7 separate regions of the Homo sapiens genome follow, and all the other regions are linked to region 1. The links are contacts of gene promoters, found by promoter capture Hi-C in blood cells and fetal thymus (Javierre and others, 2016). All regions are on one chromosome and are shown on one strand. Each heading gives the region's core, a stretch centred on a gene start or on the middle of the fragment in contact. The rest is flanking DNA. Distances are from core to core; before and after follow the strand shown.

Region 1 (3,545 bases), core at 366-2,865:
GAAAATCTATATACTTCTCTTTTGTCTTAAAATTGTGTGCAAATTCTGCAATACATCTTAGATTTAATCTTTAAAAACCTTTTCTGCTGGGCATGATGGCTCACGCGGGTAACCCAGCATTTTGGGAGGCTGACGTGGGTGGATCACTTGAGGTCAAGAGTTTGATACCAGCCTGGCCAACACGGTGAAACCCCGTCTCTACTAAAAATACAAAAATTAGCGGGCATGGTAGTGTGTACACCTGTAGTCCCAGCTACTCAGGAGGCTGAGGCACGAGTCATTTGAACCCAGGAGGCAGAGGTTGCAGTGAGCCGAGATTGTGCCATTCAGCCTGGGTGACAGAGGCTGAACAACAAAAAAAAGGGTGAAAAAAAACAAACAAAAAAAACCCAAAACCTTTTCTGACCTAACCTTCCACTAAAATAGCTAGATATAGATCTTCAGCTGGAGAAACCCAAGGCCTGAAAGGCTTGGTGTCTTTCCTGGATTAGTAGTGTAGCAGTATAGCATATGACCCTAGAATTAAGGAGCCCCAAATTTGCATCTGGATTTTCAGATTCTGGAAGAAGAACCTGGACTCTTCTAGTCATGTGCTCTTGGACAAGTTATTCAACCTTTCTGAGCCTCAGCTTTCTCCTCTCTACAATGAGATAATTACAGTACTTTTAGAATTAAAAGATAGTTTAGGGGAGTGAGAGATCACCTCCAACCCTCCCTCCCCTTTGCTCTTATGTGGGCTCTTTGGTTGAATCTAGGAACCAAATTGACACATGGCAGATTAACAAGAGAAAAGCATACTAATTTTACTAGTTTTACATGTACATGGGGATCCGCACAAAAGAGTGAAGTGGCCAATGTAAGATGCCTTTATACTTTTTACACGAACTACAAATCAGAAGAAAGGGGATCTGGCTAGGGGCAGTAAATTTCTCGCGGAGTCATTAGGAGAAAAGTGTGTGTGTTGGGGTGTAAACTTAGTGGAAGATAACGGTTACTTCGGAAAGTATATTCAGGTCCAAAGCAGCCCCCAGTTTCGTCTCTGGTGATAGGTGCTATTTTCTCCCTCTGGTAAGGGACGGGTACTCCAGAGGAATCCTGGAGGAAGCTTTATGGCTTGCTGCATGCAGGAAGAGATAGGTCATCAAACCTTTTCTGAAACTACAATTTCTCCAATATTTTCAACTCGAAATAATCAATGTACCAATTCCATATATTTTTGGGATGGCACATCCATCAGTCCTTCAATAGAAAGTAAGACGATGCCCTTAAAACATTTAGCTTCCTGCCTGGCACAAAGAGCTGAATTAATACTGTCCACGCTCCCATAGCTATTAACAGCAAATAACAGAACCCAGCTTTAAGCCTTGGTCTCCTAATTCCTGACCTGTGTTCTTCCCATCACATCACAACCAATACTTCTTAGAATGTAGCACGCAAAATGCCCCGCCTACTCCATTGGCCTCACCCTGGCCGAGAGGTGCTTACGCAGGTGCTGAACGGCAGTCGTCAGAACTGCGCCTGCGCAAGCGGCCTTTCTCTGTTCGCGATGTGACGTAACGCGCCTGCGGACTGGGCCCAGCTTGTCCTCTATGACTTACCCAGAAGGCAACGCTTCTCTTTCTGGTCAAAATGGCTGGTAAGCAGGCCGGTAAGTAACTGGGGGTCTTCTTGGCCGGCATCGTCGCGCTTCACCGTTTATTTTTGCTGCAGCTTGCTCCGTTTTCTCTCTTCTTTGTAAGTGGCCAAGTTTGTCGCGGAAGGGAAATTGGCTGCTTCAGTCCAGTGAAAAGGATGTGCTTCCCCACTCGTTTGCTGTCCCCAGGGCGGGCTTGCCTGTATAGGGTTGGGATGTTAACCCGCTGTTTGTGAAGGTGCCCGCGGTGGCTCTGACAGCCCTGGAGTTCCAGCTGCCCGTGCTTGGAAGTCCTTCCCCTTGGCCTTAGAAAAGTTAAAGGGCACAAGAGGATAACTAGTGGATGACTTTCAACCCGAATGAGCTCAGTGCTTTCTATGACCCAAGTGCTCTATCGTGTGCATTGGCCCTATAAATTTTCTTGCCATTGCGACGAGGGAGATATTAATTTCCCTTTTACGCTGATAAGATAACTGAGGCAAAGTGACCCAAGGAAGTAGAATTGGAAATATCATTGCACCCCTCGCGCTTCTCAAACTGCGAATCAGAGACAGTTGAGCAAGGGATACGAGCGACGCTTCAGGTTGACCTTGGATTATCTAGAGCGTCAGCTTGATCAGTAGGTTTGGAGAAATTTGAATTTATTGTAGGTTCTTTTTTTCTTTTTTCTTTCTTTTTTTTTTTTTTTGCTAATCTCTGCCCTCTGGCGGTACAAGTTGGAGTAGCCGTTTTGTTTGTTTGTTTGTTTTGTCTTTGAGACGGAGTCTTGCTTTGTCGCCCAGGCTGGAGTGCAATGGCACAATCTCGTCTCACTGCAATGCAACCAAGTTGGAGTAGCTTAAAAAATGTTGATCCTTTTCTCCCCGCCCCCAGCAATTGTGAAGCTGTTAGGAAACATCAGGTTGCCAGAAACATCCGTTAACCTAATTGACATTGAGCTTTTTGGGGGTGGGGGAGACTTTTTAAATAATTATTTTATTAATTTGGCAGATATTGAAGGAGTCTTACTAAATTCAAGACACTGCTTCTGTGCGTGTTTGGGAACTACATAGACCAGATCTCAACTCCCATTAGCTAACTCTGACCTTGGGTGGGATCACTTCTGTAAGCCAGCTTCCCCTTCTGTAGTAACAGACATGTAAATAAATCAGCTAATGTTGGTAAAGCAAATAGGAAAGTGTTTGGTGCACAATAAGTGCTTAGTGAATATTATTATAGTCACTGATAGGTGGTTGAATATAATCTGTCTTCCACAAGTATGTTTGTAGATTGTTGACTGATACTTGTTTTTCTAGCAGCAGTTTTATACATGACTCTTAATTTCCAAGGAGATTTGCTAAAGCCACGTAATCTGTAGTGCACTGAGTTTGCAAGCAAGGAGAGTTGAGTGAAAGGAGAGTTTGCTTTCCTTCCTTGGTAAGGGCTAACCCTAGACAAAATTTTAAAAGAGAATACAAACCTGTTCTACCTCTCCTTTTGTAAAATGTCTCTCCTAAAATGTCAGATACGGTCCTGCTGTACTTGGACCCTGCTGGGTTACTTCATCAGGCTCAGCCCTGTTCCCCAAACAGTTTTAAAATTACCTATTTCTCATCCTTTTTCAATATCCATTCCCTTGGGGGGAACTTAGTTGCTTAGGAGGAGGTAAATGGACTTCTTTTACGAATCCATATTAATGTTTAAATGACTAATGGTATCAAAATCCTCCCCAAAATACATACATTTTTAAAGAATGTGGCCAAATGAAATAACTGTAATATCGAGTAAAAATTTTAGAGGATGAGGGTCATTTAGACCTGCCAGTCTATGCTGAAATCTCACTGTCTTTTCCCTACAACTCCAGCTCTCTTGAAATGAAAAGTTTACAATTATTTCCTGTGATCTATTTATGAAACTACAAATGATGGAAATT
Region 2 (3,545 bases), core at 343-2,842, 1.4 Mb after region 1:
GGTCACGCCTGTAATCCCAGCACTTTGGGAGGCCGAGGCGGGCGGATCACCTGAGGTCAGGAGTTCGAGACCAGCCTGACCAACATGGAGAAACCCCATCTCTACTAAAAAATACAAAATTAGCTGGGCTTGGTGGCACATGCCTGTAATCCCAGCTACTCAGGAGGCTGAGGCAGGAGAATCGCTTGAACCCGGGAGGCAGAGGTTGCGGTGAGCCGAGATCGCGCCATTGCACTCCAGCTTAGGCGACAAGAATGAAACTCTGTCTCAAAAAAAAAAAAATGTTAAAAATAGGCTTACCAGATGACTCAGCAATTCCCCTTCTAGGTATGTATCCAAGAGAAAGGAGAAAATGTACCCACACAAAGACTTGAATGTTTAGAACAGCAGTATCTACAGTAGCCTAAAAGTAGAAACCAAGGTCTATAACCTGGTGAATAGACAAATAAAATGTGACATACTCATTGTATCTGTTTCAAGTGGCTGCTGTAACAAATTACCACAAACTTTGTGGTTTAAAACAACAGAAACTGGCCGAGTGCAGTGGCTCACGCCTGTAATCCCAGCACTTTGGGAGGCTGAGGTGGAGAGTCCAGGAATTCAAGACGTATCTGGGCAGCATAGTGAGACTTCTGTCTCTACAAAAAAATCAAAATAAAAAATAAGGCTGGGATGGTGGTGTGCGTCTGTAGTCCTGGCTATGTGGGAAACTGAGGTGGGAGGATTGCTTGAGCCCAAGAGGATGAGGCTACAGTGAGCCGAGATTGCACCACTGCACTCAGGTGGGTGACAGAGTGAGACCCTGTCTCAAAAAAAAAAAAAAAAAGAAAAGAAAGAAAGAATGAGAACAGACTGTGGTCATTCAGACTTGGGTATTTAGCAGACATTTTCTTGAACAAAGTGAGCCTGTCATGTCACTTTATGGAAAACAACTAACACCATTTGTGGCGAATAATAACATTCAATTTTTTTTTTTTTTTTTTGAGATGGAGTTTTGCTCTTGCTGCCCAGGCTGGAGTGCAATGGTGCTATCACCGCTCACTGCAACCTCCACCTCTCAGGTTCAAGCGATTCTCCTGCCTCAGCCTCCCGAATAGCTGGGATTACAGGCACTGCCACCACCACACCTGGCTAATTTTTCTATTTTTAGTAGAGATGGGGTTTCACCATGTTGGCCAGACTGGTCTTGAACTCCTGACCTCAAGTGATCCTCCCACCTTGGCCTCCCAAAGTGCTGGGATTACAGACATGAGCCACCGCTCCTGGCCAACATTCAACTTTTTAAGTAAAATTAGAATTTTAGAAAACTGTAAACTTGGCAGCTTCCCAATACTTGACAAGACTTTTCTGATGACACCAATGGCGATATTAACAAATGTATATTTAAATGTGTCAACTTTCAGATGATCATCACAACTTGACAAATCAATCAATATTTTCCTAATATATGGCTAAAAGATTTATTTAAATTCCAAGACAAGCCGAGCACAGTGGCTCATGCCTGTAATCCCAACACTTTGGGAGGCAGGGGCAGGATGATCACTTGAAACCAGGAGTTGGAGACTGCAGCGAGCTATGATCATGCCACTGTACTCCAGTCTGGGTGACAGAGCGAGACCCTGCCTCTTAAAAGTAAATAAATAAAAAATTTCAGCTGGGCACGGTGGCTCATGCCTGTAATCCCAGCACTTTGGGAGGCCGAGGTGGGAGGATGACGAGGTCAGGAGTTTGGACCAGCCTGGCCAACGTGATCAAACCCTGTCTCTATTAAAAATACAAAAATTAGCTGGCATGGTGGCAGGTGCCTGTAATCCTAGCTACTCAGGAGTCTGAAGCAGGAGAATAGCTTGAACCCGGGAGGCAGAGGTTGCAGTGAGCAGAAATCGCATCACTGTACTCCAGCCTGGGCGACAGAGCAAGACTCCATCTCAAAACAAAACAAAACAAAAAATTTCAAGACAGACTGATGAATTGTAATGGAACGGAATTTGAAAAGTTAATTGGTATGATTTCAGATTTAAAATTGCAGCTAATCTTTAAGAAACAACCACTTTCTCAGGTTTTGGTGAAGAAAGTCCATAATTATCCGAAAAGATATAAAATACTTCTTTTTTTAACTACTCATCTATGTGAGCAATGCCACTCTTCTAGTTTTTAAAATGAAAATAGTTATTTTATATAAAATTGTATTTGTCAGCATGTAATAGGATTATTTTTATTTTTATATGATTATTTTATTTTAATTTAAATAAATTAAATATTTTTAAAACTTCTCAGTGTTAATTTTTAATATGGTAAATATAAACAAACACTCTTTTAAGTGCTTAATAATTTTTTGGTCTAACAGGGCCCTGAGACTAAAAAATCTGAGAAACTATTTTATTGAGGCATGCACATCAAAATCCTACTGTGTTTGGCTCTGAAGAGAAGAGGGAAGGAGGATAGAACAGGGGTGGGTTAGAGAAGGGGAGAGGAGAGGTGAATGGGGGGAAGGAGTGGGGGAGGGGGGTCACAGGTACTTCAACTTTATCTGTATTTTTTTTTTTTGAGACAGAGTCTTGCTCTGTTGCCCAGGCTGGAGTGCAATGGTGCGCTCTTGGCTCGCTGCAACCTCCACCTCCCAGGTTCAAGTGATTCTCCTACCTCAGCCTCCAGAGTAGCTGGGATTACAGGCACGCCACCATGCCTGGCTAATTTTTGTATTTTTAGTAGAGACAGGTTACACTATGTCGACCGGGCTGGTCTCGAACTCCTGACCTCAGGTGATCTACCCGCCTCAGCCTCCCAAAGTGCTGGGATTACAGACGTGAGCCACCGCACCCCGTTCTGGTTTTTGTTTGTTTGTTTTGTGATGGTATCTCTCTGTTGCCCAGGCTGGAGTGCAGTGGCATTTAGCTCACTGCCTCCTTGACATCCTGGGTTCAAGTGATCCTTCTGCCTCAGCCTCCTGAGTAGCTGGGACCACAGATGAATACCACCATGCCCAGCTAATTTATTTATTTTTTTGCAGAGATAGGGTCTTGCTATGTTGCCCACCCAGGCTGATCTGGAGCTCTTGGGCTCCAGTGATCCTCCCACGTTGGCCTCCCAAAGTGCTGGAATTACAGGTGTAAGCCACTGTGCCCAGCCATATATAGATGCTTTTAAAGTCCCTGATATTTCCTCAAAACCCATGAAAAATTCTATGGGCTCATAGAAACAAACTATTATGGAGCATTTGTTACATACCATGACCCAAATTAGGGCCTTTATATCCTCGTTTTCTCATTTGATCTTTCAACATCCTAGAAAGTAGGAATTATGAGCTCACCTTACAGCTGAAGAAGCTGAGGATCAGAGAAGTTATTGTTCTTAATTTTTTTTCTGTGGATTTACAACTATTTAAAAAACAAAAAATCAATAGCACACAAATTTGGTGGAACTTTTATTATAATTGCACCAAATCTATAGATAAACTTGATAATACAGTAATGAGACTCCTTATCTAGGAGCAGAATAAGTAGATCAGTAGCTTCGTCAAAGTCTCCCAGAGAATAAATGTTAGA
Region 3 (3,545 bases), core at 650-3,149, 1.3 Mb after region 1:
TTGTTGGGAGACCCCTGACCCCTTTTCTTGACATCATGCTGTTAGACCTTTAAGCTAGCTATACCGCTAACTGCGTTTTGAGTGACTGCAAAAGGGAGGCAACTTCTGCCCCGCCGAGAGCCATCCTAAGCGTTAGAAATGGCAGAAAGTTTCTTGGGACTGACAAGGCATGGGCTTCTCCTGATGCTGTCACCTTGGGCAAAGCTCCTACAGGTAAATTAGGGAGAGAATTATTTTGCCGGCGTCACGAGACGAAGAATCGAAAAAGTGTGAAAAAGGACTTCGCCCGCCCCAAAGCGCCCATCCGGCGGCGGCTATTTCCCGGGCCTCAAGCGCGCTCGAGCGGCGCAGCACAAAAGGCCGGGCGGGAGCGGGGGTCGCCGGGCGCCGCCTCCCGGTGCATCTCGGGAAGGGCTCCCGCCCGCGAGGCTCCGTCTCCCCGGCGCGGCCCGCTCGCCGTCCGGCTCGCTCAGGGCCTGGGCAGACGCGGCCCGCCCGAGCTACCGCGGGTTCCGAGACGCCTTCGCACTGCTCCTCCACCCGGGGGATCTTTGTTCCCGGAGCTGTTCCCCGCCTCGCTGCTCCCGCCGCAAAACCTGTTTGCGGAATACCCGCCGCAAGTCTGACTTGACGATGTGCAGTTTTGGGGTGCGCCAGTTGTGGGGGCATTCATAGAGGCAGCGAAGGGACCCCTAAGTTTAAACACCCGGGGAAGGATAAAGGAAGAGCGTCGGGCCCCCCTCCTCCCAACAGCGCTCGGGCGCGAACGGCGCCCTCCCGCGCTGCCGGCTCGCGCGGGCTCCGCAGGGCGCGCTGGCGGCGGCGGCGGGGCGGGGCGCGGCAGGCGGGCCCGGGGCCTGCACGTGGTGGCGATCTTTCTTCCCACCCGGCCAGGTCCCCGGGGACCACCGCGCTCAGGGGGAGGAGGAATGCCGTTCCCGGGCCCCGCTCCGGAGAGGGGTTTTACCCTCTGGGATCCCGGAATTGGAGGTGGAGAAGAGAGGAAGCAAGGGAGGGCGCGGCGTGGCGCGAGCGTTTCCTGCGCGGGGACTGCGGGGTGGCAGCTGGAGGCCACTGCAGGGGCAGAGCGGCGGGTTGGGGGAGCGACCGACCCATGGGGAGGGAAACCCGGTAGGGGGAGCAGGGAGCCGGAAAGCAGGGTTGATACATACCTGGGTGGGCGGGCTGGAAATGCCTTCCCTGGGCGCGCCGCGCAAGGCCGGCGGAGCGGGCTCCGGGTGGTCGCGGACCGGGACTGGGGAGAGCAGAGCCGCACTTGGCCAGGCGCGTGGCTGAGTGGTGTTTACATTCTGCAGCCACTCCACGTTGTGCTGCCGCCCGTGCCTCCCATTGGCCAGCTCTTCAGCCAACGCTTTGCTCCTCCCCGAGGGGCGGGCCCTCGGGTCCCCGCGTCGCTCAGGAAAGACCTGGGTTCCCTGAGGCCTTGGCGGGACAGCTAGGGCGCGCCCCTGGACGGTCACTTCCCAGCCACCCTATGGTCGCCCGAGTCGTGTCCCCCTGTTATGCGCCCGGGCTGAGCCGCAGGCTGACACCCCCGAAATCCAGGAGTTGCAGTGGGAGGAAGCAAAAGCAAACTGGCGGGAGATGCGCGAGCCAGGCGGCGGGGAGAACAGCCGCGGAGAAGGAGCCCCTGAGAGTTTCCCTACCGCCGCCGGCCGCGCCGTGGAGCGCGGTGGACGCGGGCAGAAGGCCCGGTAGAGTGGACCCCACGGCCGCTCCGGGTGGCGGGCGCGCACTGAGAGCAGGGCGCGGCGCGCGGGCACGCGGGCGGACGGGCGGGAGAGGGGAGCGCGCTGTCCGGAGGTGTCAGTCTGAGGCGCATGCGTGCGGGGCGGGACCGGCCCGGCCTATATATTGGGTTGGCGCCGGCGCCAGCTGAGCCGAGCGGTAGCTGGTCTGGCGGTGAGGAGTTGCTGCGCGTAGGGGGGATGTGGGAGGAAAGAAAGCCCAGTTGGGCCGATCACTTACCACAGGCGGGAGCCTCAGGGAGGAAAATCGGGAGGGCTGAGAACTAGACGACTGGGGGTCATGGGTTCCCGCGTTCCGTCCCTGTCAGGAACCTTGGCAGGGGACCGGGAAGCGGCTGGGCATGGAGAGCCGCCCCTCATTCTAGGGGCTTCTCTATCCCACCCTCATTTGGGGAGCTATCCCGTGGGAGAGAGGATGGGAGGCCGGGTCCCCTCCATGGGGAGAAAAGTTCCCAGCCAGCCCAGTCTCCCCTTTCTTTAGCTCCTTTTCCTGCCCTCCCCCACGCCCTCCGCTTCCCATCTGGAGTTGGGGTCCCGGCGCCCCTCCGAGCGGCGGTAGGGCGGCAGGGCCGGGAAGGAGGGAAAGGAGACTGGAGGCCGTGACACCAGTCTTGGTTCCTCCGCCCCCTGCTTCCCCGCCACCGCCGCTCTCCAAATTGGCGCGGAACCGGCTTCTCCACAGCATTTCGCCTCCACAACCCCCTCTCCCCGCTGGTCCAGGAGGGAGGCGGGACGTGGGGGCGCTGCCCAAGCCCCACTCCCGGTGTACGGGGGAGAGGGTGGAGGACCCAGAAAAACCCGTTTGAGGAAGATGTGCCTCCCTGCGCGTTCAAGGTGTCAGGAGTGCTTGGTAAATTTTTGGACACTCGCGTTCCAGCTGTACATTCAGTTGAGGAAATGCAGGCTTGTATCCAAAATGAATTACCATGAGCTAGCTAACATAGCACAGAAGATGGCAGGGTCACAGGGCCCAGGCCCCCTTCGGAGGGACTGAGCTTTCACCTGCGAATCAGCGTCTTACTGGCACTTGGAGAATGTGAATGACAATGTACTTGACTGCGGCTTTTCCTCTCCCCCCTTCAGAGGTTTTATACACCTGAAAGAAGAGAATGTCAAGACGAAGGTAACATTATCTGTCTTAGAGACATGTTTCAAATTAGTTGCTGCCTTTAACTTACTAATTACACTTCCTTTTTAAAAATTCACTACAGTAGCCGTTTACAAGCTAAGCAGCAGCCCCAGCCCAGCCAGACGGAATCCCCCCAAGAAGCCCAGATAATCCAGGCCAAGAAGAGGAAAACTACCCAGGTGATTTAAGGAGAAAGAGGGAGGAACGAAATTCCATGCTGGGACTTTAGTTTACCAATGGTCTTTTCTATTTTCCAGGATGTCAAAAAAAGAAGAGAGGAGGTCACCAAGAAACATCAGTATGAAATTAGGGTAATGCAGAACTGGGCTGGGTGGGTTTGGGGGAAAAATGGAGGATAGATGAATAAGAATAGAATTATGTGTTTATTGCTTTGCGATAGATTCCTCTGACACTTTTACTTTTAATGCCCCTAGAGGTCAGCAGGAAGGCGCCTATCTTTGGGTGGTTTCTATGTGCCCGAATCCTACTACAGCTGCAGAATAAGTGCCTTCAAGCAGCTGGTTCCTTTTTGTAAATCCCTCCCTCTTGGAACTGCCTGGTGCACCAGGGCCCGCCTAATCTGTCCAATATACTGCTCTTTGTTCCCTCGCAGACTCTAGTAGACGGTCCTAATAGCTGCTTCTTGG
Region 4 (3,545 bases), core at 717-3,216, 1.3 Mb before region 1:
TGCAGCCTCCATCTCCTGGGCTCAAGTGATTCTTGAGCCTCAGCCTCCCAAGTAGCTGGGGCCACAGGAGTGCACCACCACACCCGGCTAATTTTTGAATTTTTTATAGAGACGGGGTTTCACCATGTTCCTCGGGCTGGTCTCAAACTCCTGACCTCAAGTGATCCACCTATCTCAGCCTCCCAAAGTGCTGAAATTACAGGCGTGGATAAACAATATTTTTTTGCACCAATTTACTCATAACTTTTTTAGAGGCTGGTGGGTTTCAGTTGTGGTTTTCACTCCCTTCTTAGACATGATCAACACATATTTTTTGATTCAACACTCATCATTCATTCATTCATTGCAGTACAGTGGTTAAGCATGTGGGTTTTAGTGTGCCAAATAAAACATTTAAAACATTAAAAATATATTGCTCCCAGCTGGGCACAGTGGCTCGTGCCTGTAATCCCAGCACTTTGGGTGGCTGAGGTGGATGGATCACTTGAGCTCAGGAGTTCGAGACCAGCCTGGGCAACAAAGTGAGATCCTTGTCTCTACAAAAAATAAAATAATTAGCCTGGTATGGTGGCATGAGCCCATAGTCCCGGCTACTTAGGAGGCTGAGGCAGGAAGATCACTTGAGCCAGGGAGATTGAGGCTGCAGTGAGCTATGATTGTGCCACTGCACTCCAACCTGGACCATAGAGTGAGAACCTGTATCTAAAAAACAAAACAAAGCCAAACAAAAGATTGTTCCAGCAGCTGGTTAGTCTGGGAAGCCCATAGAAGTGTGGCGGTGGAGCTTATGAATGCATTAGGAGAGCTATAGGGATTGGGAAGTTTACGAGTTGAATTGTGTCCCCTAGGAGATTCGTTGAAGTCTTTTTTCTTTTTTCATTTATTTCATTTTATTTATTTATTTATATATTTATTTATTTATTTATTTTTCCTTTTACAAACCCTTGTGTCAAGGGCTGACTTTCAATAGATCTCAGCAGGTAGCTGCTCTGCTACGTATGAAACCCCTACCCAGAAGCAGGTGGGCTACGAATGGTTTAGCGTCAGGTTCCCCACGTGAGGGTTGAGGGTGCAGCTGCCTTTCCAGCAGCACCCCGTTTCCCAGGACGTGGGGCTCTCTGCGCCGCACCCCTGTCCCGGCCATGTGAGGACAGAATAACAGCCATGTGAGGACAGAGGCAAACATTCTGCTGCCACAAGCCAAGGAAGGCCGGGAGGCTGCCAGAAACTGGAAGAGACTAGAAAGGGCTTTCCACGAGAGGCTTGGAGGGAGCATGACCCTGCTGACGCCTTGGGTGACAGCTGGGAAAGAGCCTGGTGGCTGTAGCCAGACTTCTAGCCCCAAGTACTGGGGCAGAAGAAATTTCTGTTGTTCTAAGCCAAGTTTGTGGTACTTTGTTATGGCAGTCAAAGAAACTAGGGGATTTAGTTCTTTAGAACCTGAGATGTAAAGGCAGCTTTCCTTGAAAAGGATATTATTTATACTTATTTCAAAGTTTGTATTAAAACACCTGCAGTCTGGGTACAGTGGCTCAAGCCTGTAATTCTAGCACTTTGGGAGGCTGAGGCAGGCAGATTGCTTGAGTGCCAGAGTTCAAGACCAGCCTGGGCAATGCGGCGAAACCCCGTCTCTAAAAATTACAAAAATTCACAGGGTGTGGTGGCAGGCAACTGTAGTCTCAGATACTCAGGAGGTTTAGGTGGGAGGATCACCTGAGACCAGGAGGTGGAGGCTGCAGTGAGCTGTGACTGTGCCACTGTACTCTAGCCTTGGTGACAGAGTGGGACCCTGTCTCAAAAACCATTCTGCAGAATAGGGAAACACTGATAGAAGATTTACAAAGCACAGTGGACAGTGGACATGGTTCAATTCTGGAATGGTCTAGTCAAAGAGGAAGACCTATGAAACCACATGAGAAAAGAACACTGGGTAACATTCACTGAAGGCTGAAGCGAATATTGAGGAGATGGTCTACACTATCCCAAGTGATTTATATGAAAGAATTTATTTAACCCTTTTAAACAATCCTTAGTTATGTATTATTATTATCTCCATGTTACAAATGAAGAAACAAGGTATGGAGAGGTTAAGCAACTTGCCGAAGGTTACTGTTAATAAGTAATAGGATGGGGATTTAAAACCAGGCAGTCTGGTTCCAGAGCTTCTGCTCCAAACCACGCCAGTGCTGGAGTTCTTTACCTGCACTTCAGCGTGGGGAGAGGGCAGAACATCTCCCACAGTGCCCTCCCCTTCCACTCCACTCATACCTGCAGTTGCTCTTTCCACAGCCACTGCCCTCAAACACTCTCTCTGCAAACATTCCCTGGTGCCATCTCTTCTTTTTCTTTTTGCTCAACTGATTTTTAAAAAATTGAGATAAAATTCACAAAACCTAAAATTAACCATTTTAAAGTGAAAAATTCAGTGTCATTTAACACATTCTTAATATTGTAGAACCATCACCTCTATCTAGTTCTGAAACATTTTATTCTCCCCAAATACAACCCCATGCCCATTAAGCAGTTACTCCTCATTCTCCCCTCCCTGAGCCCCTGGCAACCAACAATTTGCCACCTCTCTCTTTGGATTTAACTATTCTGGACACTTCCTATAAATGGAACCATACGATATGTGGCCTTTTGTGTCTTGTTTCTTTCAAGCAGCTTAATGTTTTTGAGGCTCATCCAGCATGTATCAGCACTTCCTTCCTTTTGATGACTGAATAATATTCCACGGTATGTAAAATACCACAGTTTGTTTATCCACTCATCTGTAGATGGGCTTTTGGGTTGTTTCTTGTTTTTGGCTATCATGGATAGTGCTGCTATAAACATGTGTGTACAAGTGTTTGTTTGAGTCCCTGTTTCCAGTTCTTTTTGGTATTTATGTGGGTATGGATTTGCTGTCATGCATTATTTTTCTGCTTAATTTTTGACCGGGCGACTCTTGTGTTTCTCATCTTTCCATACTGATTCCTTATCACACACACAGAAAAAACCCTGCTTGGAGGGTGGGGAAGCTGAAGGGCCTGAAGCAGGCCAAGGAGTAGGATCAGGGTCAAAAAAAAGCCTGCAACACACCCACATTAATCATCATTTACTTCACCTGTCACACTTAGTATGCGTGACTATTCTCAAGTTTGGGAATTAGGCCAAGTGTTTGCTCCTTAACACTGAATTGTAGAACTTTCAAGCTGGAAGAGACTGCAGAGATTTCCCAGTTTGGTGAGTTTTCAAACTTTCCTTGGCAGACTTCTCTCAGGCCTCTGGGGGAGGGCCCTGGGGTCCTCTCATCTCCCATTCTTTCCACCCCTTAACCATACTCTGGTTTTTATGTTTTACATTTTGGGTTTCTGGGTAAGATTTCACATGAAGAGCAGAGGAATGATATTTTAACATCTACTTTTCTCTTTTCTTTTCTTTTTCTAGGCAGGGTCTCACCTTGTTGCCTAGGCTGGAGTGCAGAGGCATGATCACAGCTCACTGCAGCCTCAACCTCCCCAGGCTCAGGTGATCCTCCTACATCAGCTCCTGAGTAGCTGGCA
Region 5 (3,545 bases), core at 600-3,099, 1.3 Mb after region 1:
AGAGCTGGCCAGGCATCTCTTTCTTTTCACATAGCCTCTCCCTGTGGCTAGCAGGGTGGTCTCTCCTCATGGGTGGCTGGCATTTTCCAGAGTACAAAGCAGAAGCTGTGGGGTTTGCTTAATGCTTTTGCTTAATGACGAGGCTTGGAAGTCCTAGAACATTCTTTCTGCCACATTCTATTGGTCAGAGCAATCACAGGGTCAGCCCAGATTCAAAGGGAAGAAAAATACACCCACTTCATGATGGAGATACTGTTGTGGTCATCTTTGGAAAAATGATCTACTTCATATTGAATTTTTCTATCATAACAAGATGATGATTTCACATGTTGCTTTAACCATGATAAACCTTATCAAACTGGAAAAAGGTAGGCCTTTTTCTTTTTAAAAATTAGCCCCTTGTAATTGTCATCATACCTTGGTTCTGAATGTGGAGATGGCCTCTTCAATGGATTCCTAGGGAGAAACAAGAGATCATGGGGCTCCTACCATAGCATGTGGGAGAAAATATTAGAACAAGCCTGATTTGCAAAAACCTAAAATCCAAAGCATGTTCAAGTCTGTGAGACTATCTAGAACACAGTTTTAGCTCTTTCTCCCAAGATAAGGTCCAATGACCATCATATTTTGATCATTACTCCTTGGTGTCTGACAACTCCCTGCACTGCAATTTACATCCTTTAAAACCAGCATTGTTGGAAATGGACTGACTACATTGTGAGGGTCAGAATGTGAGTGTCTTTCAGATACTGTAATGTGTGATAGGCATCCCTCCAGGGTTGCTATACAGCTCACCCCAGGTCAAAGAACTACATCCCAGTCCAAACAGTATCCACATGAGAGCTGATAGGCATCAACGTTACTCACCTGCCTTTGCCAGACAGTTAATCCACCTATATGTGGGACAGAGCCTTGGTCTGGAAAACACTTTCAAGCCCACTGTCTCACTCTCTTGTCACTATAAATAACCTGGTGAGTTGGCAGTCCCGGCGTGAATGCCCACAATTTGCAGGTATGCAAACAGAACAGAGGGGCTAAGTTCCGTGGGTCACATGAGAGCTAGGCTGCAGCGCCTGGGGAGGCGGCCGTTCCCGCCCGGTGCGCTTGTTGTCCGCTGGAGCAGAGGCCCCCGAGCCTGCTGACCTCTCTGCCTTCAGGCCTGGTCTCGCAGTCCCTTGTGCCTCGCCTATAGGCAGGCGGAATCCAGAGCGTGCAGCAAGCCCGGCCGGCTCTCGGTGGCGGTTTCTACAGCAGGTGGGGCCTGGCTCCGTGATTGAGCGGCCTCTACCCCTCTATCTGGGGCCCAGCAGCGGCCCCCTCCCAGCACCCTGGCTACACGTCTAACCCTAGGCTGACCAGGTGGGGCTCTCGGAGGCGTTAGCCCCAGCCCTCCCAGGAGTCTTAATGTTCCTCTCACAGGAAAAAACGTTCTGCGCCCTTTGTGCCCCAAACCCTCGACCCTTCACTCGGCGAGAGGGGTCGCTGAGGGAGAGATCCACCTCTGCCCTTCCCGTTGCCCGCCGGTTCTTCCTCGCCCGCCTCTTACGCACCCCGCTCCCGCCGGCTCCTGGAAAGCCGGCCCCGGCCCCAGCGCTTCCCTCCCCGGCCTAGCCCCTCTCTCCCACCCTTCCGCTCGCCCAGGCCTTCACGCTCAGCTCCCGGTTTTTGTTGCCCGGGCTTGTTTCGGAGCTGAGCGCGCCGCCGGCCGGGCGCCAGGTCACGTGCGTTGGTGACAACCTCTCGCAGGGCGGCCCCGGGGCCCCCGCACCGCCGATTGGTGGGGCCCGGCCTGGCGCGGCCCGGGGCGGGGCAGCGGGGCCCGACGGCGAGCGGAGCGGCCGATCAGCTGTTGCGAGCGCTGCACAACAACAAAAGGACTTGGACTGGCCGGCCTGGGCGCAGCGACCCGAGGGCTGGAGCCGGCCCCGCGCCTGCCGTCTGGGTACCTGAACGAGGTGCAGCGCAGCCCGGCCCCACCGCAGCTACCTCAGCAGTCCCGCCCCGCCCGCGTCCTTCCCCGCCGAGCCGGCGGCCGCTCCCTTCCCCGCGCAGCCCCGCACGGCCCGGGCCCACGTAAGTGCCGGGGGGGGGCGGGCGGGCGTCCGTCCAGGGCCGCCTCGCTGCCGGTTGGGGCCGCAGCGCTGCCCGCTCCTGAGCCCGGCGGGGCCGGCCGCGCGCCCTGCCTTCGGGGCGCCGGTTGCGCGTTCACCGAGCCCCCTCGCTGCCTCCCCTCGCCGCCGCCGGGCCCGGCCGCCCACCCAGTGGGTCGGTCCTCGGCGGCCCCCGGGGCCCAGGGCGCGGACAGAGGCTGACAGAGGCGGCGGCGGCGCGGACAAGGGCCCGGCCTGGCCCCGGCGCTGGGCGGCGGTTGGGAGTTTGGTCTCTGCCTCCTCCCCCGAGCGTGGCTTGTTTTCTTGGCCGCGGCGGGACCTCCTCCTCTCACCCCTCCTCACTCCCCTCCACTCCTCCTCCTCCGCCTGCTCTCGGCCGTTGGATGGGGCCGCCCCTTCGGGACTCGGCGTCGGGGCTCCCGCGGCCACCCCCGGGACGCATCTCCGAAGACAGCGGCGCTTGGGCTTGTGGCCCGGCGCTCTGTCCCCGCCCTGCGATCCCGTCCCCTGCGCCTGCCCTCCGAGTTCCGGAGGCCCTGCGGCTATGGGGAACCTGCTCCGTGACCCGGCCACCGGCCCCCGCCTGTCCGCGGCCTGTCCCTTGCTTGACCTGGCTTGAACTCAGTCTTCGCTACCTGACTTTGCACCTGTGGAAAGAGCGCTCTCCTTGGCCCTTAACATTTAGATCCTTTGGATCGCTCACGCTTACTGAGCGCTGAGTATGTGCCATATACTATGCTGGGGGCTTTGCTTTATCGCCCCAGTTGATTCTCATAATAACCTTATATGAAATAGGCCCGGCTATCTTACACATAGGAAACCCGAGGCACAGAGAGATTAAGTTGCTCAAGGCCACACAGCCAATTAATAAAAGGAAATGGTGTTTGTATTTCAAAGTGGCAGCTGAATTTTACCTGGAGAGTCTGTTTTGCTTGTATTTTCTGATTATATCTGCTCAGTAGGTTAATTCCAATACAGAGTGGATTAAGGAAGAGCCTCTTTACAACTGTGACTCCCAAGGACTTGGGCATCTATTGCTAAAAAAGCCTTTTCTCAATGCACAATAGTTTTGGGAAAAGGGGGAACAATGTGACCCTTGGGGTCACTGAACAGAAGTCATAATGAGTTCCCCCACGATACTGAAATCACCAGCCTGGTAATTGAAATACATTTTCATTTGCAGATGTGAAAAGCACTGGGAAGCTTTTAAGTCGCAATCAGTGTAATTCTGAACTGGCAGCATAATTTTAAAAGGCCCCTGCCTGGAACCAGGACCTTACTAATTTCTGTGACCAAGGTCTTGTTTTCTCATCCTATCTTTTGTTCTTTCCTGCCATTGCTTCCTCTGATGTCTGCTTTCAAAATTCAAGATTATCAGGCTATGAATTACCACTTACTCTTGTCTTTGTCCACTGTCTTTCAGCCTTAGGGGCA
Region 6 (3,545 bases), core at 408-2,907, 1.2 Mb after region 1:
AACCTCCCATGTTCAAGTGATCCTCCTCTCTCAGCCTCCAGAGTAGCTGGGACTACAGGTGCTTACCACCATGCCCAGCTAATTTTATTTATTTTTTGTAGAGAAGGGGTCCCACTATGTTGCCCAGGCTGGTCTGGAACTCTTAGGCTCAAGCAATCCTCCCTCCTCAGCCTCCCAAAGTGCTAAGGTTACAGGTGTGAGCCATGGTGCCCAGCCAACATGGAATCTTAAAGAAACCTTCCCAAGTGATAGAGCTGGGATTAATACTCTCAAATCAGGTCTGCCTGCAAAATTCAGCATTTGAAATAAGTCACTAGAGTCAAGAGCCCCCATTCCACACAAATAACATGGACAGTTTAAGTAACTGACCATTTGTAAATACAGTATATATACTTGAGAAAAACTAGCATGTGACTGAAGTAAAAAATAACTAATAATGTACTTAAATATTTTTGTTTGTTTGTTTTGAAACAGGGTCTTGCTCTGTTGCCCCAGCTGGAGTGCAATGGAGCAAACTCGGCTCATAGCAGCCTCAGCCTCCTGGAGTGAAGTGATCCTCCCGCCTCAGCCTCGCAGTAGCTGGGACCACAGGCTGTGCCACCAAGCCCAGCTAATTTTTTTATTTTTTGTAGCAACAGCATCCCGCTATGTTGCCCAGGCTGGTCTCAAACTCCTGGCATCAAGCAACCCTTCTGCCTAGGCTTCCCAAAATGCTGAGATTACAGGTGTAAGCCATTCCTCCAGCCTTAAATATTTGTAAATCCACAGACTATCCCTGGAAAAATAGATAAGAAATTTTTAAAAGTGATTATCTCTGCAAAGTTATGACACTAGCGGCTATTGGGTGGTATACTCTGGCAACTTAAAGTTTTTATCATCAAAATATAACAACTTAAATATATAAAAATAATGCAATCTTTTCACAATTTTGGCTTTTACAATTTTTTTTGGCTTTTACAATTCTTAATGCCTGATTTCCATTACTGCTATCTTGTTTCTCTTACAAGTAATCAACAAATAAGGTAGGAAATAAATAATTTTTGTTTTTGTTGTTTTTGAGACTGTCGCCCAGGCTAGAGTGCAGTGGAGCGATCTTGGTTCACTGCAACCTCCACCTCCCAGGCTGAAGCGATCCTCCCACGTCAGCCTCTGGAGCAGCCGGGACCACAAGCGCGGGACACAACGCCCAACTAATTTTTTATTTTTTTGTAGGGATGGGGTTTCGCCATGTTGGCCAGACTGGTCTCAGACACCTGGGCTCAAACAACCCACCGGTCTCAGCCTCCTAAAGTGCGGAGATTACAGGCGTGTAGCCACCGCGGCCGGCCCACAATTTTTAAAAGGGATTATAAACAAAACACTGAAATGCATGCATTTTGTTGTGTTATGCTGCTTTTCTCTAAAATGGAATTAAAAAAAAAACGGTTTTACTTGCATGATCAACTTCAAGGTAGTTTAGTCATTCAAGTACTTTTGGTAAGTCCTTGAGACCAAGTACTTCAAGACCTTACCCCAGTCTTTCAAATGAGACATAGCAGAAGGGCAGAGGGGCTAAGCCACTGGTCTCAGCAGTCAGGCCTGGATTCCCAGGGGTCCCTGCCGCATGAACCAGGTGACCTGATTGATCCAACCCACCTCCACAAATGATTAAGGAGCGACACCCAAGTGCCAGGCCTTCCCAGCACTACGCCCGACAAACAAAACACTTCAGGGCTCTGACTTTATGAGGCTATTCTTGTGAACCTGTGGCAAATTCTCTAATCACTATAAAACCCAGTTTCCTTGTCTGTTAAATGAGATAATAATGACTTCCACTCACTGTGCCCTTACTATATGCCAGGAATTGTTCTAAATGCTTTATAACTCACAACCTTAAATGATAGGTCTACATTTGTCCGTCGCAACTTGTAATGAAGACTAATTACTCGTAATCTGCTTTGCATAATGCCAGGCACACAGAAAGAACTCAAAGTTGGCTACCGTTGTGGTTAAAACTAATAGACGTTCTGTGAATAACAAAGGTTATTCATGCAAAAACGCTGAATTCGGCTAAAATTAAGGTTCAGATAAGGCGACAAGCGTGGGCAGTCGAAGGAATTTTGCCATAATTTTGTGACCCATGTGAATGTTCCTGTGGGCCCGCTGCCTCCGCACACCCGCACCCGACGCCCACTAGAACGCACACCCAGAGGGGCACGAGGAAGGCGCCGGTCCGCTCGCTCAAACGTCAGGCCAGACGCGAGGCGCAGCCGCTCCCACCCCGGGACCCCGCTTCCCGCCGCGCCAGGGAAGGTCGTGCTCGCTCACCGCAGCAGCTCCAGGCAGTAGTGGTCAGTGCCCCAGGCGCCCGGTCCGCTGGCCGCAGCCACGCTCCGCCCAGACACCTCCGGCCCGGGCAGCCGCCGCATGCGCGCGTACAGACCCAGAGGCGGCCGGCGGCAGCACAGGCCGGGGATGCCAAGCCGCAACGGCCCCCAGACAGAGCCGTGCGCGGAGGCCGCCATGACGCCGGCACTGCGTGCCCTTCGACCCCCCGCCGTCGGCGCGCAGCTACGCCCCGGCCACGCCCCTGCAGGTTCCCCTATGCTCCTTTGAGTCGCGGGAAGGCAGCCTCTGGACGCCGCTCAAAGAAGAGCCAGGTGTCGCTGTGGTCCTCTGCATCTGGGCCGCCGCCGCGACTCTTTGGCCTTCGTTCCAGGAAAGACCCGCCCAAGTCCGTCCGACCCCTCCTGGGCTCTTCCCCTTCCCCCACGTGCATCCACAGGCGACCTCAGAGCACCTACAAGAAGTGATGGGTGCTGCTGGTGAAGGAAGTAGCTGCCAAAATCACGCCCCGCCGCCCCTATACCCCAAATCCACCATGAGAACAGAACACCTTGCACTGTTTCTCAACAGGGGCTGCCTTGGCACTTTGGGCGCAATAGCGCTGTCCCGCACGTTGCTGGAAGTTTGCAATAGGTGAATGCCCAGTCTTGGTGACCACCAAACGCCCACACACCACCAAAGGCCTCTGGAAATGTCGCCCTGTTTGGGAACCACTGGCCACCTAACACCTCCAGCAGAAAAGCACACACATCTCTCAGAGAAGCCACACAGTAGGCCATTATCAACCACTACCTATAGCTAACCTGCTTGCTGACTTTTTTCTCCCAGTATCCTCTGGGTTCCATACGGGCAGTGCCATTATTTTGTTTCCTGCTTTACCCCAATGGCTGTCACTTGAAAATTGTAGAAGCTGAAGTGCCTCAGTTCACATAAATAGTAAGTAGTCGGGTAAGATCCAAACATTCAAAATATCTGTGTTATTCCACAATCTTATTTGGACAGGGAAAGGAAGTGAAGACGGCCATAGGCCAGAGCCTGCTTGTCTGGGCCTCCAAGGTCCAGCATGGAACTCCAAGGAGTCAAAATTTTCAATGTAAACCTGACCTTTCAGGTCCTTAGGAAGATGTATTTATCAAGGCAGGAAGACAGAGCTTTTAACAGTTTACTAACTTGATTTATAACTTTTTTTTTTTTTTTTGAGACAGAGTCTCACTCTGTTG
Region 7 (3,545 bases), core at 733-3,232, 1.1 Mb after region 1:
AGTCATAAGATCTCAGTTAAATACCAGTTTGGCTGCTACATTTGTGAAATTAGTTAATTTCATTTCTAAATAAAAAATGTTATAATGCCATTTACTTGACAATGAAGCAAAACTAAAAGAATTTTTAAGAACAACAGAAATTGGCAATACAGCCTGAGCAACATGGCAAAACCTTCTCTCCACAAAATTCAAACAAAAATTAGCCAGGTGTGGTGATGCGCTCCTGTAGTCCTAACTACTCAGGAGGCCGAGGTGGATCACCTGGGCCCCGGGAGTTTGAGGCTGCAGTGAGCGGAGATGACACCACTGCACTCCAGCCTGGGCGACAGACAGAGACCCTGTCTAGGAAAAGGAAAAGGAAGGAAGGAAAAAGAGAAAAAAGGAAAAAGAAATTGACAATCAAATATGAGCAGAAGCTGTATTTTTAGATCTAAAAAGTAAAATTCTCCAAGAATTTGGGGTTTTAGGGCTTACTGTATTTGTGTTTAAGAGCCTTTTCAGTTCATTTAACAGAATTTTAAAGCAAGATGTCTTTATTTAAAAATCATTTAGATTCATTTACTGAGGCTGAATATTTTCTTCTGAAGCTTAGTCACTATACTAGTTTTATTTAGAGGCCGATTACGTGTGCTTTCCAAATAAATAGCTTAATACCATTCATTCCCCGTGTGGTCGGGACCCAAAGAGATTATAATGAAGCCTTCGTTAATACTGAATTAACGTGAAGACCCCACGAGCTGCCAGAGTATTTAAAAAAAGTAAATGCTCAAAACGCGGTAGGCATTCACCCTTAAGAAACTAAAGGGAGGGGAAAAAAACTTCAAACTGTCAAGATCACTTCTTATTCTTAAGAGAACACATGCCTTTAAGACTCTCAAAGTTTCTGTCTAAATCTTTCTTTAATGAGTCTCTTCAGCAACGTACTACACAACACGACAAAGAAGGCATTTATCAACAACGCGTTTTGTGAGTCTATGAATTACCGAGGAGGGCTTAGGTGTCTGTAACCTTCATACCCACTTCCACCGCACACTCAAGTTATTGCTGGAATGTACGGAGAGCACACAAGGCTATTCAAGCAACACCGGCAGCGCGCTCTCGGCCTTCAATCACATTTTTAAAAAGAAAAATAAATTCGTCAAAGGATCATAAAACTTGAAAAGGCTCCAAATAAATAAACCATCGCTTCTATCAGAGCAAGTTCTGCGGGGCCATTTTCGTCTCCCAAGTGACATACAAATATGTAGTTCAGGTCATAAGGTCCCCGACACGCAGACCCTGCAAACTTTTCGGCCAGAAATTTGTCGCGACCCTGAGACGCCCCCGGCCGTGTCCAGGACCCCCGTCCTCAGGCCCCACAACTTCTCGCCCGGCCTCGGGGCTCCTTCCCGCGTCCGCCGGCCCCCGCCCCGCAGACCCGTGGACCGGACCCTACCCGGCGGCCCCCGTCCCCCCGCGGCGGCGGCGGCGTCCTACGGGCGGGCGCGGCTCGCTCCCGGGCTGGCGGGACGGCGGCGGCAACTGGCCCGCGGGCCGGCCCCGGCGCGAGGGGAGCGGCCGGGAGCGCCCCGTTTCTCACAGACCCCAACATGGCGTCGGCCGCCACCGCCCGCGACGACGACACCTCCCGGCGCTGCGACGGCTCCGGGACCGCGGGAGGAAGCGCCCGGAAAGTTTCGCGTCTCCCCTCCCGGCCCGTCAGGAGCCGGCGGACCACCCACCCGGGCTTCACCTACCCCGACGGCCGCGGGCGGCGGCGGCGGCGACAGCGAAGGCGAAGGTCCGATCCTCCTGGTCGCGGACGCAGGGCGCGGACTCTGCCCGTTCCCCGCCGGGGCCTTCCAGGGTGTGTGCTGTCCGCAGCCCCGCGCAGCCGGCGCGATCCAGACGCGGTGGGCGGGCTGGCCGCCAGCGCAGCCGCTCGCAGGTGACTCCCCCGCCCCTCCAGTCGAACCCGACAACGGCTGCCTGGGCTGGCCTCTCCCCTGCGCGCGCACGGGCGCGCCCCCGTCCACACTCCGGGCGCGAGCGCGCGGGCACGAGCACACCCACACCCCTCGCTCCCCGCCCTTTCTTGCCAGTTCCCTCGCCCCGCCCCTCGCGCCCCTCGCGACGCGCTCTAGGGGCGGGGCCTTTGGCGGAGGCCACACCCACTCAGGCCGGCCGCGGGCGGAGCTTGTCCATGTGTGAGGTCGGGACGCGCTCCCGCGACGCGTTGAGGTGCACGTGAGGCGCCTTACCTGACTTTCCTGACTCCGACCAGCCCTTAGAAAGTATTGCTCAACTGTCTACGAAGTTCTTAGGGAGACTGGAATAATAGAAGGAAGACACCTCCCCACCCACAACAGGCCTCCCCGGGGAACTGAAGAACGAGAAAGGCAGGCTTTGGATCTAAATGCCCAAAGGCATCGGTACTGGCATTTGCTGCTCCCATTTAGCACAGCAATCCTTTCCGTCACACTTTCCCTTTGCTTTACCTAAAATCCCTCCTCTTGAAACCAAGGGAACTGCGGCGACACACACATACCCTACGTGCTCCACCCAGCCCTTTCTTTTAAATGCATACTTTAGAATTCTGGTCTTCCCAAAACTTTGACGACACAAAACCCCATCAGCCTACTTCACATACCTAGAAACTGTAATTATTGCATAGTATATAAGGTTAAATGTGCCCTAATTGATCTGATAGCTAAGCGCTCTGATGGGTTCGTAGAGAGGTAACGAAGTTGCTTAGGGTAGACTAGGGATGGGGGCGAAGTAGGGAGAACAGCATACTTATTTTAAACAAAGTGTGTGTGGTGTGTAGGAGGAAATTGGGTTTTGGTAAATTTTATATTTCTTATTCATCTATTACTTCAGTAAGTTGTTTTAACCTGTGTTTGATTGCTGTTGAATTAGAGTCACTACCAGCCAAGCTGCACGTGGATGAGCACCTAGGGATGAGAGCAGACTTGGGTTCCGCCCTGCTCTTCCACCTGGGATCTTCCTCCTCCAGGCTTGTTGCCTCCTATCCTCCCCTATTTCAATAGAGTTTGTCTCTGAAACAAACAAGTCTTTTTTTAAATTAATAATTAGAACAAAATTGGCAAAGATGAACTTTTTTTAAATGGGGAAAATTGTATGATCACACACACACAATCTTTCGTGTGTTAGAGTTGTCTCTAGATGAGTACAGATGTCACCAGGACGCTTGTCCGTACCATCACTCTACCTCATTCACCTCTACGTGCACAGCAATATCTATCAGTGGGGAAAAGGCAGGACTAAATAATGCCTAAAATCCTTTTAAATTTTGAAAGTAGGAATTGCTATGTCTGACTGGTTGTCTAAGGTCAAGCCTAGAGCATTAGTTATCAAATATTTTTGGTCACTCACATTAGTAAAAATGTTTGCCCTCCTCACTTCCCATGTACTTATTTAGCTTAAGTAAAGTGCATAGATAGAAGCCAGAATGACTGTAATCAAACATTGGCTTTGTCTCTAACAACCTTGGCACATCCAAAGATAACTTTGGTTTTTTCACTTGTAAAATGGAGATAATAAAA

Evidence for each region. The method cuts DNA at HindIII sites, captures the fragments that hold promoters and counts their contacts. A CHiCAGO score of 5 or more calls a contact.
Region 2: a contact is called between a fragment that was not itself captured here and the fragment with the promoter of UQCRB in region 1, in 1 of 17 cell types (fetal thymus). The highest score is 5.4, in fetal thymus.
Region 3: the fragment with the promoter of CCNE2 here is called in contact with the fragment with the promoter of UQCRB in region 1 in 2 of 17 cell types (fetal thymus and neutrophils); the score reaches 7.1 in fetal thymus.
Region 4: a fragment that was not itself captured here is called in contact with the fragment with the promoter of UQCRB in region 1 in 15 of 17 cell types (M0 macrophages, total B cells, M2 macrophages and 12 more); the score reaches 20.8 in M0 macrophages.
Region 5: the fragment with the promoter of TP53INP1 here is called in contact with the fragment with the promoter of UQCRB in region 1 in 2 of 17 cell types (fetal thymus and total CD4 T cells); the score reaches 10.8 in fetal thymus.
Region 6: a contact is called between a fragment that was not itself captured here and the fragment with the promoter of UQCRB in region 1, in 3 of 17 cell types (total CD8 T cells, naive CD4 T cells and total CD4 T cells). The highest score is 7.1, in total CD8 T cells.
Region 7: a contact is called between the fragment with the promoter of PLEKHF2 here and the fragment with the promoter of UQCRB in region 1, in 4 of 17 cell types (non-activated CD4 T cells, activated CD4 T cells, naive CD8 T cells and 1 more). The highest score is 6.6, in non-activated CD4 T cells.

Annotation. Positions count from the first base shown.
Region 1 is chr8:96,233,615-96,237,159 of GRCh38, reverse strand. It overlaps UQCRB (ubiquinol-cytochrome c reductase binding protein), which reads left to right and starts at 1,615. Exons shown (of 4, transcript NM_006294.5): 1 at 1,615-1,648. The coding sequence starts at 1,630. It overlaps UQCRB-AS1 (UQCRB antisense RNA 1), which reads right to left and starts at 1,867. Exons shown (of 2, transcript NR_183275.1): 1 at 1,599-1,867. RefSeq lists an enhancer at 1,609-1,888. The HindIII fragment of the contact is 3,599 bases long and covers 1,108-3,545 here.
Region 2 is chr8:94,816,333-94,819,877 of GRCh38, reverse strand. No RefSeq gene overlaps it. Among named protein-coding and RNA genes, the nearest start is that of INTS8, 5.2 kb to the left of the region's middle. The HindIII fragment of the contact is 7,350 bases long and covers 1-3,545 here.
Region 3 is chr8:94,893,555-94,897,099 of GRCh38, reverse strand. CCNE2 (cyclin E2) reads left to right here and starts at 1,899. Exons shown (of 12, transcript NM_057749.3): 1 at 1,899-1,923; 2 at 2,853-2,892; 3 at 2,981-3,077; 4 at 3,156-3,209. The coding sequence starts at 2,879. It also overlaps a transcript of NDUFAF6 not described here. RefSeq lists silencers at 310-529, 810-859, 1,030-1,079, 1,210-1,309, 1,690-1,909 and an enhancer at 2,526-3,087. The HindIII fragment of the contact is 5,265 bases long and covers 1-3,545 here.
Region 4 is chr8:97,563,102-97,566,646 of GRCh38, reverse strand. No RefSeq gene overlaps it. Among named protein-coding and RNA genes, the nearest start is that of MTDH, 79 kb to the left of the region's middle. The HindIII fragment of the contact is 8,862 bases long and covers 1-3,545 here.
Region 5 is chr8:94,947,682-94,951,226 of GRCh38, reverse strand. It overlaps TP53INP1 (tumor protein p53 inducible nuclear protein 1), which reads left to right and starts at 1,849. Exons shown (of 4, transcript NM_033285.4): 1 at 1,849-2,073. It also overlaps a transcript of NDUFAF6 not described here. RefSeq lists enhancers at 994-1,043, 1,214-1,383, 1,250-1,879, 1,880-2,508 and silencers at 1,504-1,613, 1,694-2,073, 2,294-2,433. The HindIII fragment of the contact is 4,012 bases long and covers 1-3,316 here.
Region 6 is chr8:95,023,968-95,027,512 of GRCh38, reverse strand. NDUFAF6 (NADH:ubiquinone oxidoreductase complex assembly factor 6) reads right to left here and starts at 2,524. Exons shown (of 9, transcript NM_152416.4): 1 at 2,308-2,524. The coding sequence starts at 2,504. RefSeq lists a silencer at 2,233-2,602 and enhancers at 2,358-2,652, 2,619-3,465. The HindIII fragment of the contact is 5,537 bases long and covers 1-3,545 here.
Region 7 is chr8:95,132,222-95,135,766 of GRCh38, reverse strand. It overlaps PLEKHF2 (pleckstrin homology and FYVE domain containing 2), which reads right to left and starts at 1,982. Exons shown (of 2, transcript NM_024613.4): 1 at 1,737-1,982. RefSeq lists silencers at 1,421-1,580, 1,601-2,240. The HindIII fragment of the contact is 9,547 bases long and covers 590-3,545 here.